Linked DNA regions of Homo sapiens: region 1 is linked to region 2. The links are contacts of gene promoters, found by promoter capture Hi-C in human tissues and cell types (Jung and others, 2019). All regions are on one chromosome and are shown on one strand. The core of a region is centred on a gene start or on the middle of the fragment in contact, and the rest is flanking DNA. Distances in the headings are between cores, read along the strand shown. Region 1 holds the start of BCL2L10 (BCL2 like 10). Region 2 holds the start of USP8 (ubiquitin specific peptidase 8).

Evidence for each region. The method cuts DNA at HindIII sites, captures the fragments that hold promoters and counts their contacts. A contact is called where the count stands out against the background at its distance.
Region 1: a contact is called between the fragment with the promoter of BCL2L10 here and the fragment with the promoter of USP8 in region 2, in 1 of the 25 tissues and cell types used here (small bowel).

Annotation. Positions count from the first base shown.
Region 1 is chr15:52,111,164-52,114,037 of GRCh38, reverse strand. It overlaps BCL2L10 (BCL2 like 10), which reads left to right and starts at 1,263. Exons shown (of 2, transcript NM_020396.4): 1 at 1,263-1,800. The coding sequence starts at 1,312. RefSeq lists a silencer at 1,257-1,416. The HindIII fragment of the contact is 13,214 bases long and covers 1-2,874 here.
Region 2 is chr15:50,423,019-50,425,758 of GRCh38, reverse strand. It overlaps USP8 (ubiquitin specific peptidase 8), which reads right to left and starts at 1,354. Exons shown (of 20, transcript NM_005154.5): 1 at 1,245-1,354. RefSeq lists enhancers at 1,107-1,496, 1,535-2,531 and a silencer at 1,607-1,656. The HindIII fragment of the contact is 18,008 bases long and covers 1-2,740 here.

The DNA.
Region 1 (2,874 bases), core at 14-2,513, 1.7 Mb before region 2:
TACTTTAGAATTCTAGAGGTCTGTACTCTCTCCTGTCAGTGCTTGCCAGAGGCTCCATACAGCATCCCTGTTGGACAAAGTCCCACTGGATCTGTTGGATCACAAGACCCAAGTGGTAGGGCAGCTTTACTGCAGCCTGAACCTTCTGCAGAGTCTTCTCTTATTCTGCTCCTCAATCCACCAGCCTGTCAATTGGGTTGAAATAGCACAAACACAGTATATGTTGCCTTCAAAGTCCAAAATGGCTTACTGTTCCAGGCTGTGTCCCCCAAAATTCATATGTTGAAATCCTAACCCCCAGTGTGATGGTATTCAGAGATGGGGCCTTTGGGAGGTATTAGATCACAAAGGTGGAGCCCTCACGAATGAGATTATTGTCCTTATAAAAGAGACCCCGGAAAGCTACTCCACACCTACTGCAATGTGAGGACACAGCAAGAAGCCTGTTGTCTATGAACCAGGAAGCAGGTCCTTACAAGACACAGAACCTGCCAGGGCCTCAACCTTGGACTTTTTAGCCAACAAAACTGTGAGAAATAAATGCCTTTATTTATAAGTCACCCAGTCTATGGCATTCTGCTATAGCCGCCTGGACAGACTAAGACAGCTGCCAAGTGCCGTGCCTCTTTTGTAGTGATGCAAGATGCAGCAACTCATCTTTCACCCTGGGAGGGCTATTTCAACATGCTCCAGACCCCTGAACCCCCAGAAATACCACTGCTAGTATCCATTCTGCATCAGTCTGGATCCAATCAGGAGAAAGAAGCCACGGAGTAATATGAACTGAGAAAGTTTAATATAAATATTAGATGGCCGGGCGCGGTGGCTCACGCCTATAATCCCAGCACTTTGGGAGGCAGAGGCGGGCGGATCACGAGGTCAGGAGATCGAGACCATCCCGGCTAACACGGTGAAACCCCGTTTCCACTAAACAATCCAAAAAAATTAGCCAGGTATGGTGGCGGGCGCCTGTAGTCCCAGCTACTCGGGAGGCTGAGGCAGGAGAACGGTGTGAACCTGGGAGGCGGAGCTTGCAGTGAACCAAGATCGCGCCACTGGAGCTAAATAACCCGAGTCTCACAGTGCATCTGATTGCTACGCGAACACGTGCGCACCACCAGGCCTTGCCTTGGGGACTGGAACAGGTGCAGGTGGGATTCCCATCAAAGGCTCTTCTCTCAGTCCTGAAAAACAATATACCGGGGGCCGGGGGCCGGGGGCCGGGGCGGGGCACGGCAGCCCTACCCTGGGGGAGGCGCGGCCGGGCCAAGAAAACCAGCGAAGGCCCGGCCCCCCAGCAGAGGCCGGACCATGGTTGACCAGTTGCGGGAGCGCACCACCATGGCCGACCCGCTGCGGGAGCGCACCGAGCTGTTGCTGGCCGACTACCTGGGGTACTGCGCCCGGGAACCCGGCACCCCCGAGCCGGCGCCATCCACGCCCGAGGCCGCCGTGCTGCGCTCCGCGGCCGCCAGGTTACGGCAGATTCACCGGTCCTTTTTCTCCGCCTACCTCGGCTACCCCGGGAACCGCTTCGAGCTGGTGGCGCTGATGGCGGATTCCGTGCTCTCCGACAGCCCCGGCCCCACCTGGGGCAGAGTGGTGACGCTCGTGACCTTCGCAGGGACGCTGCTGGAGAGAGGGCCGCTGGTGACCGCCCGGTGGAAGAAGTGGGGCTTCCAGCCGCGGCTAAAGGAGCAGGAGGGCGACGTCGCCCGGGACTGCCAGCGCCTGGTGGCCTTGCTGAGCTCGCGGCTCATGGGGCAGCACCGCGCCTGGCTGCAGGCTCAGGGCGGCTGGGTGAGCACGCGGCGGACACCGGGACACGGGGCGGGACGGGCAGCCGGGAAGCGCCCACGAGGCTGGCACGGTGAGGAACCCACCGCGCCAGGCCCCTGGAACGAGGTTTCGTGAAAGCAGAAAGGCTCGTTTCAGCGGGCCTGGAACGTTCGCTGTGAAGTCTGGGGTTTCTCCTCCCCTGGCAGAAAGGCCGGCAGAAATCGGCCTTCTTAGACGGCCGTGAACCGTTCCGAAGCAGCTGCGCAGGCTTAGGTCTGCTCACTTGGACCTTGCCCTGGCCTTAGCCGTCGGGGACTTTTAGGGGGGCACCCACGTTAGGTCTGAACGTTTTGCTCCTATAGAAATCCCCAACCAATGAAGTCAGCAATGGCGGGGCCCCAGCCAGGTGGGGTGTTTTTCTCCTTCGCCTATTAAATGCGCCTTTGGAGAGACTCAGACCCATTGATCACAACCCCCTACGCCTCTCAGCCTGGCCAGAGAGGTTGTGGAGTGTGGTGGTCGCCCAGTGGTGGCGCTGACCCAAGGTTCCTTAATTTCTAGTCCTCTGCACCCAGTCCTCGGTGAGAACGTTCTAGGCCCCTGGCTTTCAGCTGCAAGCCTTCATCTCTGTGGTCAAGGTTAGAGGGACAGGCCCTTGCCCTGCAGCTGATGATCAAGGAAAGCCACCTGGTGATGAGCCCACTGCATGCCTCTGGGGGCTCTGAGCTAGACCCCATTTCTTTCCCCACCACCTTATTGGCGTTGATTCAATGACTGAAGTGGCCCATGTTATCGGATACCTATAGCCAAACTATTAAAACCAGCAAGTTTTTTGATCCGAAATGTAGCCTCCTGGGGGCAGTTTCCATTTAGACCTTTTTCTTTTTTTCTTTGAGGCGGAGTCTCGCTCTGTGGCCAGGCTGGAGTGCGGTGGTGGATCCCAGCTCACTGCAACCTCTGCCTCCCGGGTTCAAGGATTCTCCTGTCTCAGCCTCCGGAGTAGCTGGGACTACAGGCGCGCCCCACCAAGCCTGGCTAACTGTGTGTGTGTGTGTGTGTGTGTGTGTGTGTGTGTGTGTGTGTGTTTTCAGTAGA
Region 2 (2,740 bases), core at 105-2,604:
TTTAAAACATTTTTGTTAGTTTTTCTTATACATTGTTTTCTTAAAAAAACAGATGTCTATGTGCAAAATTTCATTAATGAGAGGTGTATTTTTTTTTTAAACTACTACAGGGTCTTCACTAATATTAAAGATGCATCCAATGTGTCACAAGAAAAGGAATACATATTTCAAAGCAGCCATATCAACATGATAAAGACATAACACAACCGATATCACCTTCCAGATATGCTTAATAGTCCAGGGATATGCTGTAAGGAGAAACTACCCAAATCCATCATGAATGACATTCACCAACGAATCTTAAACAGAATCGGCTGAAATGCAAAAATCTGCTTACATAGCAAAGCCGCAGCAGAGCAAGCCTAAAACAGGAATACTTCCTTAACAAATACCACTTGGCATTTTTAATGGCTGCAGCAAGATATTTACAAAACTAACGATGCTTTGCAGATTCAGAAAAGGTAACATCCTTTAGATATAAATCCCTTTCATCTGAAACCCTCAGGTCTCTTAACAAATACTAAATTCCTTAGGCTCTGCAACACCTCCGTGTCAGGTAAATTTTTTGTTAGTGATTAAGTGACTTGTTCAAGGTCACAGAATGAACTGGAGGCAAGAAATAAACCCAGGAGGGTGGTCTGCAGCTTTATAATGCACATCACTGCTAGTAAGGATTCTGATAATTTCCAAGGTGGAGTGGCGGTGAAATTAACTTGTCCCACAACTCTAGGATGGAAGGCACTTTTTAGGGGAAAAAAAAAAAATCTTCTATTTGAGGAAGTCATAGTTTTAACTCTGACAAGCTTATAGGGTCTTTAAACTCAAACTTCACTAAAATCAAGTGTGACTGGGGAAGAAGAGAAACTGGGAAACAGTTTTAGGAGCTACAGTAAGGCCTGGGATTGTAGGCAGATTGCAGAAAAAAAAAAAAACCGGAAGCAAGAGGAAAGAGGTCAAAGTCGGGTATAAGTGTCCAAGAGAACGGAAGATTGGTCAAAGCCACCTTTTAAAACCAAAAAAACACACGAAACTCGCTTGGCAATCCTAGGTAGATGGCGTAAAAGACTCAAGGTTGGGCCTTTCCTCTCCACAAGCTGATTCTACCTTTAGGAGTTGTCCCACTCCTCTCCGCGGACAGAGCTTGTCTCCGGGGTAACCAGCAGCTGGTGGAAGGAAAGGCGTTCATCGTTCACAGCGGACGACTTCCCAGAGAACAGGTGCTAGGGCCCAAGACCCGCACTCACCGTGACGCCGGGCGCGCTTCACTAACGCCAGCCTTCTCGCCAAATGCCCATCTCCCAAGAACTCGAGGGAGAATTAGCCTTGGCTACCAGGACGGAAGCCAGCCCAGCTCACCCCCTTTTCCCGATTTGCATTGCGAGGCGACGCGTCGCGTCTCCAGACGTCACGGCAGGGGCGGGGCTTCGCGTGCGCTCCCTTGACTCCTCTCTCTTCCACCGCCCTCCCCTTTTCGGTGAGGGCCGCGGGGCGAGGGATGGTCGAGGGAGGGTCGAGGAGGACGTTATGGGTGGGCGGTGGCGGCAAGGGCGGGGTTTCTCTGAGTCGGGTCAACATAGTTGGCCGGTCCCTTACCCCCCGCACTGCACCCTGCATTTCCGGGTTGCAAGGCGGCGCCTGGGCCTTGTTGTGGAAGAAGCAAGGTTGCTCTTGCGTCCCTTTACTACGTTATTTTCCTCCTCAGATTGGAAATTAGAAAAAAGGGGATTTAACGCCCCTCTATTTCTGGCTAAACATTCTCTGAAGCCAAGCCTTTGGTCAAAGAAAAACAAGTATTATCCTAAAACATATTTTATGTACAATTTTTAACGTCACTTAAAAGGCCCCGGCGAGGCTGGGCACGGTGGCTCACGCCTGTAATCCCAGCGCTTTGGGAGGCCGAGGCGGGCAAATGATGAGGTCAGGAGTTCGAGACCAGCCTGGCCAACATGGTGAAACCCCCGTCTCTATTAAGAATACAAAAAATTAGCTTGGCGTGGTGGCGTGCGCCTGTAATCCTAGCTACTCCAGTGGCTGAGGCAGGAGAATTGCTTAAACCCGGGGAGCGAAGGTTGCAATGAGCCGAGATCGCGCTACTGCACTCCAGCCTGGGCAGCAGAGCAAGACTCCGTCTGGTTGGGCGAAGGCCCCGTGTAATAGAAACGAAATGAGACGTCTGAACTTTCTCGCGAGCTGATCTTTGTACTCTCTTAGAGAAAGGTGATTGGATGCTCCGGTTGCCTGTAAACATAAAATTGACTTGGGTGGAGCTTTAGGCAGTAGTCACTAAGTCCTCAGGAACATTCCAGGTGTCTCAGGGATGGGAAATCTGGCTAGCGAGGTCTAGTAAATGCTTTAAGTGAAAGTGTGTGCCACATGGTACAGTGTACACTGCTCGGGTGATGGGTGCACCAAAATCTCAGAAATGACCACTAAAGAACTTTTCCATGCAACCTGTTCCTCCAAAACTACTGAAATAAAAATTTTTAAAAATAAAAAAGGATAAAATAAAGAAAGTGTGTTCAATGAATTTGTGATGAAGGCCAGGTTGCAGTGGCCCAGGCCTGTAATCCCAGCACTTTGGGAGGCTGAGGCAGGAGGATCCCTTGATCCCAAGAGACAGAGACCAGCTTGAGCAACAAAGGGAGACCCTCATCTCTACAAAACAAAAATTTAAAAATTAGACCGGGAGCGGTAGCTCACGCCTGTAATCCCAGCACTTTGGGAGGCCAAGGTGGGCAGA